2 separate regions of the Homo sapiens genome follow, and region 2 is linked to region 1. Evidence: promoter capture Hi-C in human tissues and cell types (Jung and others, 2019). All regions are on one chromosome and are shown on one strand. The core of a region is centred on a gene start or on the middle of the fragment in contact, and the rest is flanking DNA. Distances in the headings are between cores, read along the strand shown.

Region 1 (4,991 bases), core at 780-3,279:
ACTGCAAGCTCCGCCTCCCAGGTTCACGCCATTCTCCTGCCTCAGCCTCCTGAGTAGCTGGGACTACAGGCGCCCGCCACCACGCCTGGCTAATTTTTTTGTATTTTTAGTAGAGATGGGGTTTCACGGTGTTAGCCAGGATGGTCTTGATCTCCTGACCTCGTGATCCACCGGCCTTGGCCTCCCAAAGTGCTGGGATTACAGGCATGAGCCACCACGCCTGGCTTCTGTCTTTCTGTCTCTTTCTCTCTCTGCCTCTCTTTCTCTCTCTTTGCCTCTCTCTTTCTCTCCAACTTCCTCTCCCAGTTTCTCTTTCCTCTCTGCTGGTCTTTCCCTGCCTCTGCCAGCTGCTTATGCTGCTGTTCTCCCCTCTCCTTCCCCTTCCCCTAGGGAAGGGACCGTCAGGAGTGCAGCTACTTTTTCTTCCCCGAGAAGAAAGGAAAGGGGAATTCTGAATATTTTTCTTACTACCGGAGGTTTGTGTGAGGTTTTTGATCCCCTGAAATTTGTGGAAGGCTCAACACCTCAAACCAGGGGGTATCTTGCCTTGCCTGACCTGGAAGGCTCAACCCCTCAAACCAGGGGGTGTTTTGCCTTGCTGCCCTGGAAGGCTCAATCCCTCAAACTAGGAGGTGTCTTGCCTTGCTTCCCTGGAAGGTTGACCTGTTTCCTCCCTTTCCCCCTCTGAAGGTCCTTTGCACACTTCCCACTCGTGTTGTCCTCTCTGGCTGCTCCCCCAAGGGAGAATTAGGCCCCCCTCAGCATTGGCATTCCAGTAGAAATCCCACCGCAGGATCCTCCCTAAGCCATATGAGGTAGCTACGGAAACGTGGAGAGGACCCACTCACTCCGTCCAGCAGTAGGACTTGTCATCATCCACACGAACAACACCACAGGTAGGGTTGTTTGTGATCATTCACGCACACACACATTTAGCCCTCCAGAATTTGACCACCAAGGAAGTACCTTACCGGCTCCCTCGGCTTCTTCCTTTGTCTGTGCACAGAGTTGTCTCTGCAGTGTGTGAGGATGCTTTACCCTAGGTTGCCTGCTGGTTTCTTTTCACATTGCTGAGAGCTCAGGTTATTTCTTGCACTGGGTGAGTCCTGATTTCTCACCCCTGAGGCCATCACAAGAGGGTGGGGCATACCTCCTCAGGAGAGAGAACCAGAGACTGCCCCTGAAGGGGAATGTAATCACGAGCAAGCCCCCAAATTGTTATAAATAAAGTTTCCCCCCAGTGCCGCAAAAGAAATAGCACTCGAATATAAAATTTTCTTTTTTTTCTTCTCAGCAAGGCAATTTACTTCTATAGAAGGGTGCGCCCTCACAGACGGAGCAAAGGTGAGCGCACACCTGGACAAGGGAGGGGAAGGTGGTTCTTATGCCTGACCCACGTGATTCCTGATGCTGTGTCCTTCCCCTGTTGGCTAGGGTTAGACCTATAGGCTAAACTAATTCCGATTGGCTAATTTAAAGACAGTGAGGGGGTGAGTGGTTTGGCGGGAAAAATGGTTACCGCAGAGCAGGAAATCGGAATGAACCACGGTGAAGAATGAGTGAGGGAGGAGCAGGTAATCGAAAAATGTTGCTTTATGAGGAAGTTAAGTTTAAAAGTAGAAGGCAAAGAATTGAAGATACTGACATATTGATTCTTTTAAGATAAATTTAGAACTCATATCTAACAGCTGGCATGTCTGGCATGGGGCTCCGGCTGGGGCGCAGTCTTCAGCATTTGGGGCTCTGGGGTGCAGGGGGCAGAGGACGGCCGGGGCTGTGGTGCCCAACCGGTGCTAAACTCAAGCTTGGGAGGTCGCCCACGAGAAACAGTCGCCCTTCCCCACCCGCCTGCTCGGCTTGGCGGGGAGCGGGATGTCGCTGGGGGCGATGCCAGGCGGGCCGCCTCTGATAGCCTCTAGGCTCTGGCGCGCTTCCCCGCCCCTCCCGCGCAGGCGGGCGTGGGATCCCGGCTGATCCAGTCCGGGTTTTGCGGCGGAGCGGGCGGGCTGCGCGTGCGGCGGCTTCAACTGTCGCGGTAGGCAGCAGCAGGCTGAAGGGATCATGGTGCAGTACGAGCTGTGGGCCGCGCTGCCTGGCGCCTCCGGGGTCGCCCTGGCCTGCTGCTTCGTGGCGGCGGCCGTGGCCCTGCGCTGGTCCGGGCGCCGGACGGCGCGGGGCGCGGTGGTCCGGGCGCGACAGAGGCAGCGAGCGGGCCTGGAGAACATGGACAGGGCGGCGCAGCGCTTCCGGCTCCAGGTGACTGCCGGAGCGTAGTGGGATGGGCGCGGCCTGAGGGTACTCGCAGCGGCACTTTCAGCCGCCGGACCCGCCGAGGGACAGGGGATGGGGCGGGCAGAGCAGATGTGTAACTCTCCAGAATCTCTCCTTGCCCTAAGATATTCCGCACTTTCTGAGCCAGGTAGAGCACGGGGGAAGAAAGGAAACGGTAGTGTCAAGGCAGGTGGTGGAAGGCCTTTCCCTCACTGGGTCAAAGAGGAGTTTTGCTTTGTGCCAAAGAATCTCACGATTGCTGCCTATTGGAATGCGAAAACGCAAGCGTGACAACCAGTGGGATGCCAGGGGTTGAGGACTTTGGAATCGCAGAGTGTAATGGCCAAGGGGATCTGGAGAGCTTAGAGTTTTGTTTTTTGTTTTTTTTTGTTTTGTTTTGAGACGGAGTCTCGCTCTGACTCCCAGGCAAGAGTGCAGTGGTGCGATCTCGGCTCACTGCAACCTCCGCCTCCCGGGTGCAAGCGATTCTTGCTGCCTCAGCATCCCCAGTAGCTGGGATTACAGGGGCCCGCCACTACGCCTGGCTAATTTTTGCATTTTTAGTAGAGACTGGGTTTCACCATGTTGGCCAGGCTGATCTCAAACGCCTGACCTCAGTTGATACACCTGCCTCGGCCTCCCAAAGTGCTGGGCGTGAGCCACCGCGCCTGGCTGAGTTCAAGCTTCTTGATTTGTGCATTTGGATCCTAAGAGGGAGCCAGAAAGAAACCTGCCAAGTGCACAGGGAGATCTTGGCAAAGCCAGGCTAGAAGGGAAGTCTCTCTGGCTCCTGCTGTGGTGTCCAACCCCTGGCAAGCCCTTTCCATGAGCAGGTTTAGTTCCAGCCCTCCGTGGGTGGTCTGTCAACAAGCTTTTCTCCCTGCGCTGCCTTTGGATCACCTCAGTATGTGGGTTTGGAGGCGTGGAAGGGCCTGGCTGAGGGTTTGGAAGATGTGGCTTGAAGAGGGGCTTTTCCTCTGGGTGTGTGAAACACTGACCCCAGTTAAAGCCTTCTTATGTGCTGAGAGAGGGAGGGCTTGCTGTATCTGTGGGACCTGACAGGTGGGAAGGCTTTACAGGTTGGGAACCGCAGGACTCAGGAGGGTGTGCCTGGGTGGGAGACAGAAAGAGTCACAGAAAATTGTGTTCAGCAGATGTTCCGCAAGTGATTTTTGAGTTGGGGCAGAGCTGGAACTAGAACCTAGGTGCCCGCTGCACTCTGCAGCCACACTTTCGTGGAGAGGAACAGGAGAGAGATATGAGGAAGGCACCTTGCATGCCAGCCCAGGGTGTAGCCCTGCATGTTGAAGGGGGCCAGCCCCTCCACACCTGTGGGTATTTCTCCTCAGGTGGGACAAGAGACTGAGAAAAGAAATAAGACACAGAGACAAAGTATAGAGAAAGAACAGTGGGCCCAGGGGACCACCGCTCAGTATAGGGAGGACCCGCGCCAGCACTGGTCTCTGAGTTCCGTCAGTATTTATTGATCACTATCTCTACCATCTCGGTGAGGGGGATGTGGCAGGACTATAGGGTAATGGTGGGGAAAGGGTCAACAGGAAAACATGTGAGCAAAGGACTCTGTGTCATAAGTTTAAGGAAAGGTGCTGTGCCTTGATGTGTATGTAGGCCAGATTTATGTTTGACTTTATACAAGCATCTCAGTGCAGTAAACAACAGTATTGTCACCAGCATGTCTCACCTCCAGCCATAAGGTGGTTTTCTCCTATCTCAGTAAATAGAACGTAGGATCGGGTTTTACACTGACACATTCCATTCCCAGGGACGAGCAGGAGATAGATGCCTTCCTCTTATCTCAACTGCAAAGAGGCCTTCCTCTTTCACTGATCCTCCTCAGCACAGACCCTTTACGGGTATCGGGCTGAGGTATGGTCAGGTCTTTCCCTTCCCACAAGGCCGTATCTCAGGCTGTCTCAGTGGGGAGAAACCTTGGAGAATACCCAGGCTTTCTTGGGCAGAGGTGCCTGCAGCCTTCCGCAGTGCATTGTGCCCCTGGGTACTCAAGACGGGAGAATGGCGATGACTTTTTGCCAAGCATACTGCCTGCAAACACATTTTTAACAAAGCACATCCTGCACAGCCCTAATTAAACCTTGAGTCAACACAGCACATGTTTCTGCGAGCATAGGGTTGGGGCTAGGTTTACAGATTACCAGCATCTCAAGGCAGAAGAATTTCTCTTAGTACAGAACAAAATGGAATTTCTTATGTCTACTTCTTTTTACATAGACACAGTAACAGTCTGATCTCTCTTTTCCCCACACATGTGTTGCGGTTTTGGCTGGCTGTAATGTATGAATTTACTCCAAACCATCCCTGGGGCCAAGATATCTCATATTTATTTAGTAAGATAAAAAATATATCTGGTTCCAGCCTCCACTCACCAAGCTGGCTGAAAAGTCCACCATCAGTCAGTTTTTAGGGTTTCTTCCTTCCAGAGTGAGAGGGCCCTGGTGGTCAACCCAAATTGGCCATCTCCCCTACACAAGCACAGGTTCTTCACTGTCTAGTTGCCCTCTCTGGCTGGGCGCTGGAGGTCCTCCTTAGAGATCCTCCTGTTTATCCCTGGCTCTGTGCAGCCAGCTGAGTTCTGCCAGCTCCAAGAGCAGCGTGGGCAGCACTAGCAGGGATCTGCTCACAGCTCTTGCCTGCAGAACTCCCCTCCTGGTTGCAAGGAATCCACCTGGCTGGCAGGGGTG
Region 2 (5,390 bases), core at 2,604-5,103, 310 kb after region 1:
AGACACTGCTGCAGTCATTGTGGAGACAGCAGAGAGGCAAACAAGACCATGAAGCTCTGCTCTCATGGAGCATACATCCTAGTAAAAGGTGACAGAAAAACAAAGAAAAGAAATCAGATTGTAATAAGTACTGTGCTAAGAATTTTTTCCTTTCTCTCTCTCTCTTTTTTTTTTTTTTTTTGAGACAGTCTTGCTCTGTTGCCCAGGCTGGAGTACAGTGCAGTGATCTTGGCTCACCGCAGCCTCTGCCTCCTGGGTTCAAGTGATTCTCGTGCCTCAGCCTCCTGAGTAGCCGGGATTACAGGTGCATGCCCCTACACCTGGCAAATTTTTGCATTTTTAGTAAAGATAGGGGTTTCGCCATGTTGGCCAGGCTGGTCTTGAACTCCTGGCCTTAAGTGATCCACCTGCCTTGGTCTCCCAAAGTGCTGGGATTACAGGCATGAGCCACCATGTCCGGCTATGCAAAGAATTTAATTTAAACAAAGCTCCCTGAGTAAGTAGTAGTAGCTTGGTCTGAGACAGGGAGTCTGGTAAGGAGCCTGGGAACTCGGGAACTCAAGTTCTCTTTTCCCTCTTTTCTTTTAGAAGGCAAAAGTTCAGAGGCTTAAGATGAATTTTCAGCCACTCACTAATAAAACAAATACTACTGGACCCTATTATTCACCACTGGTGAACAACACAGATGTCAGGGATCCTGTGGTGTTTACATTTTAGTGCAAGCAGACAGACACTTTTATATAGAAAAATATCAGATAGTGGGAAGCACTAGAAAAAAATTAAAATAAAGTAACTTGACAGGAGTGACTGGGTAGCAACTTTTAGACTGATCGGTCTGAGGAGGCCTCTGTAAGGAGATAAAATTTAAACTGAGATCTGAATAGTAAGAAAGAATTAATCATATGAAGATTGGATGAAGCCTATTTCAGGGAAGAGGGAACTGCTAGACCAAAAGTCCCAGTACAGGAAAGAGCTTGGCATATTCAGAGAACAGAAGTTTAGGTGGCAGGATCTCATAATGTGTGTGTGTATGTGAGAGAGACAGAGAGACAAAGTAGGTGGTGAGGCCAGTTGTGCAGTAAAGTGCCAGAACAGACAGGACTCTGTAAACCAGAACAAGCACATGGGTTTTACTTGAGGTGTGATAGGCAGGGGTGTGTAAGCAGGATAATTACATGAATGGAGACACCTTGGAGGAAGACTACTATGGCTGTCAGTAGAAATGGAGAGACCAGTAAGAAGGAGATCTGTGTAGTCTCGGCAAGAGATAATGGTGGTTTAGACTTGAGTGGTAGTAGAGGTAGTAGCAGAAGTAGAGATGATACGATTTGCTGGGACTGGGTGTTAACAGTGGGGAAGATAGAAGAATTAAGGGAAACTCTTAGGTCTCTCACCTCAAGGAGCTTTCAATATAACTGAGAGACAAGGCAAGAGTACATTAAAGAAACAATTAAGCATTAAACGTGATACTGAATAAAGTTCTGAGAAAAGGATATCAATGCAAGCTGAAAGAAACAGGCTTCGCTGAAGGAGGACTCAAATTGGACTCTGACAGAGAAGTTAGAATTTTATACATAAAAACCAAGCAGGCATTCTTTCTAGGTTAGAAGGGTGAGGGTGGCATCGGGGGATAGGGAACACAGTATGAACAGGCTCAGGAGTACTTTCTTTTCATAGCACTTCTCAAAGTGACAATGATTTGTTTAGGTGGTTATTTGATTGAGGTTTCTCTCTTCCACAAGACTATAAGCTCCACATGATCAAGGACCATGTCTCTTTTACTTTCCACAATACCCGTGATACAAAGACTGGCATTTGTTGAATGAATGGCTGAGAATTAACACTCTGTGTCTGGGATGGACATTGAGAAGGCTAGTCTAAGCAGAGTAGAAGACAGAGGCCGGGGGGTAGGAGATAAGGCTAGATAAGTAGTGAATTTATTCTTTTCATCAGTAACTGGGTATAATAATAATAACAACAACAACTATTTAACAACTATCTTATAAGGATACGTGATGGTTTCAAAATATGTCTACAAATTCTTTGATAGTCTTCTTCCCTTCAAGAGGTGAAACCTACTTCCCCTTCCCTAGAGTGTAGCCTGACATAAGTAACTTGCTTCTACAGAAGAGAATAAAGTGGAAGTGACAACTGGCAACTTTAGAAATTAGGTCACAAAAGGTCCTATGCCTTCTTCTTTGCTCTCCTTGGATTAGTCACTCTGGGGAAGGGAGCTGCCATGCTGTGAGGACACTCGAGTAGCCCCAGAATGACAAGTCCATGTTGGGAGGAACTGAGGCCTCCTACCAAAAGCCATGTGAGTGAGGAACCTCCAGCCCCAGTCAGACCTCCAGGTTATAAAGACCCGGATGACATCTTAATTGCAACCTTAGAGATCTTGGCCAGAACCAGTCTGCTAAGCTGCTCCCAAATTCCTGACATATAGAAACCGTAAGATACTAAATGACTGTTGTTTTAGGCCACTAAGTTTTGGGGTAATTTGTAACCAAGGAACAGATGATCAATACAGGCTATGAGAATTAAATGAGACATATAATCAAAGCTCTTAGCATAGTACCTGGTACAGATGAAATATCAAATAAGTGACAGTTCTTTAATAGTGAAATTAATAAGCACTAAAACATGCAATTCTACATAAGGACTCCAGAATAACCAGACTAATCATCAACATTGTAACTCTGTTCATTTAAAAACAAGATGGGTGAGAAACCTCAGTCCACAGAGATACTCTCAGCAAACCATAAACTTCCTAAGAGAAGCAATTACATTAAGGAGGTTTTCACTCATGCCTTTAAAAAGATATGAATGATATCCAGGTTTGAAAAGGACATATAGAAACAGGCATTTTCATGCTCTGCTTATGGGAGTATAAATTAGAGAAGACTTGTAAGAAGTTTATCTAGGAATATCCATCAAAATTTGAAATGTTTATATTCTTTATTTTAGCAATTTCATGTCTAGAAATCTTATAAAATAGCTCATGTACATGATATATTTTTTAAAATAATTTTTCCTTATTTGTAACAGCAAAATACTAGAAACAATTTAAATGTATATCACTAAGAATGTGCATATATTCAGTGGAAAAGCAAGCTGCAGAACATATATTGAATGACCTTATTTATTTACAAACACACACGCATGTTAACCCATAGGCTAATTCATACTAAAAACTATTATGATTTTGTAAATAGAGAACTAGGAGGATGAAGCCCACATTACTGACTGGACACCTATGGGGGCATGAGAGAGAGAGAGAGAGAGAGAGTGAGTGAGTGTGTGTGTGTGTGTGTGTGTGTGCATGTGAGATGGGAACACAGAGATGGGAATTGAAGGAAAATTTTCATAGGATTTCTGTATGTGTTTTATAGTTTAAACCTTATATAAGAATCCACTCACAAATTACTTAAGAAATTTTTAAAAAGACAAAAGATGAGAAAGAAATACACACACAGGAAAAAGACGCCACATAACTTTGCAAAGGGTTTGATGGGTTTTCTTGGCTGACCCTTTCTTCCATGCCCTCACGGGGCTTTCTGAGACCACTGTAACATGCCCAATCATAAAATGCTAGGAAGGGTTCCTGCCCCAGGTATGTTTTCCTTAGTGCCCCAAAGTATGTACACAGTTGGTTCAAGATCAGTTTGAAGGGCAAGACTATAGTTATTCCTAATACTCTTATCAATTATGTAGTTACCTTTCAGCCACCTGAGGGGACAAACACCTTCCTCCACTGACAACTGGCCAGATCCTAAAGGAAGAAGCTGTTCTTTGGGTAAAAACTCTTCTTCCAGGTACTGAAAGTTCCAACCTCCTGAGGCTATGGCAGAGTGCATGGCTAATCAGAAGTATCTCGGGAATGGTAGTGGTCTCACAAAAAGCCAGTGTGACTGGTTGGCAGCTGCCGTTTCACCCAAAGTTAAGAAGCAGCTGAAAGCCAATGCCAGCAGGATCGAGTGAGGTGCTGCTGCACTTTTCTCTGTGCTGCAAACACTCTATGCCTAGTGTATCAGCTGCCTCACTGCAAAAGCATGCTCTGGAGAGCTGACCATTAACTTTCCAGGTACCAAACATCACTTAGGTCTTCTTACTCACTTATAAAACCTGGATCACCCACTGTTCCCTAGGACTTGGCTATTTAACCCATAAATTACAAAGCTGGATTCCGTCTTCTAGCATTTCTCTCTTCAGTAAAATAATGCCAACATCTGTGGAAAGCTATAGCAAAGCTTATATATGTAACTAAAATGGAGATGAGGCACCCTCCCATTACTTTCTCTGGAATTGCTCTGGCCTCTAACAGATGCATTCTAGAATGTCAGATCAGATTCAGGCATTAGAAAAGTCACACTTTGGAATTCAGAGTCTAAAAAGTTGAATTAAATAGAACCCATTAAGAAAAATCCATATTCCAGCCAAAAGATGAGTCATGACTTTTATGCATATTACATGACTTTTCATTAGAAAAATTAAAAATAGCTACAGTAGACCATTTGCTTAATACATCATTTTATACTATGAAGTTGGAAATGCTGCTTTTTTGCTTTGGGGTTGAAGTTAAGTGTCCTTTAAATAGTAAAGAAAAAGTTATTAAAACAGACAATCATCAATGATGAGTGATTATTAGTCCTAGCAGGGACTCAGCATCATATCCTTTCAGCTTTATCTACTGAGCACCTACTGAATCCTACAGGGGCTACCAAGATGTAACGCAGCATGGGAAGCTGGAAAGAAGAGAGGCTTCCAGGACTTGAATATTTTACTTTTAGTATTGCTACACAGCTGAGTGACTGTGGACAAGCTACTTAACTTCTTTGAACCTCAGTGTTCTTAACTGTAAAATGGAGAGAACACCTCCTACTTCATAGGACTGTAGAAGCCAAGAAAGGAGATCACATGTGCAGTGCACCTAATAATGGCTGGCACAAAGAAAGCATTTAATGAATGGCAGTTATCGTCAATACCATCATCGTTATCATCATCATTGCCATCGTTTTCTTTATCATCATGCTTAAGGCTTAGAGTACAGTGTACAACTTTCTAGTGCAATTAGAAGTATATGCAAATAAGCATCACATAAGGTATTTGGACTGAGTGCTAAAAGAGAGCTACACAGAGTACTATAGGAGAAGGGCACTCAAGGTCCTTCTTGATACGGCTCTTGCTGACTTACTTATCTCTGGCCTTTTTTACCAAACCATACTGTAGCTATAATGAGTGACTAAAATTCCCTGAACACACCATGTTTTCATTCATCTATACTTTTGCACATATAGTCAATTCTCATTATTAGTGGTAGTTATGTTCTAGAAAACTTGCAACAAAACATTCAATTAGTGAATATTGAACAACTGTTCCTTGGGGAAACA

The links. Contacts are between HindIII fragments. The study calls those that stand out against the background at their distance.
Region 2: a contact is called between a fragment that was not itself captured here and the fragment with the promoter of FAAH in region 1, in 1 of the 25 tissues and cell types used here (aorta).

The regions. Positions count from the first base shown.
Region 1 is chr1:46,392,288-46,397,278 of GRCh38, forward strand. It overlaps FAAH (fatty acid amide hydrolase), which reads left to right and starts at 2,030. Exons shown (of 15, transcript NM_001441.3): 1 at 2,030-2,256. The coding sequence starts at 2,062. RefSeq lists an enhancer at 1,918-2,431. The HindIII fragment of the contact is 5,547 bases long and covers 1-4,134 here.
Region 2 is chr1:46,697,691-46,703,080 of GRCh38, forward strand. All of the region lies in intron 3 of EFCAB14 (EF-hand calcium binding domain 14), which reads right to left. Among named protein-coding and RNA genes, the nearest start is that of EFCAB14, 19 kb to the right of the region's middle. The HindIII fragment of the contact is 3,701 bases long and covers 2,004-5,390 here.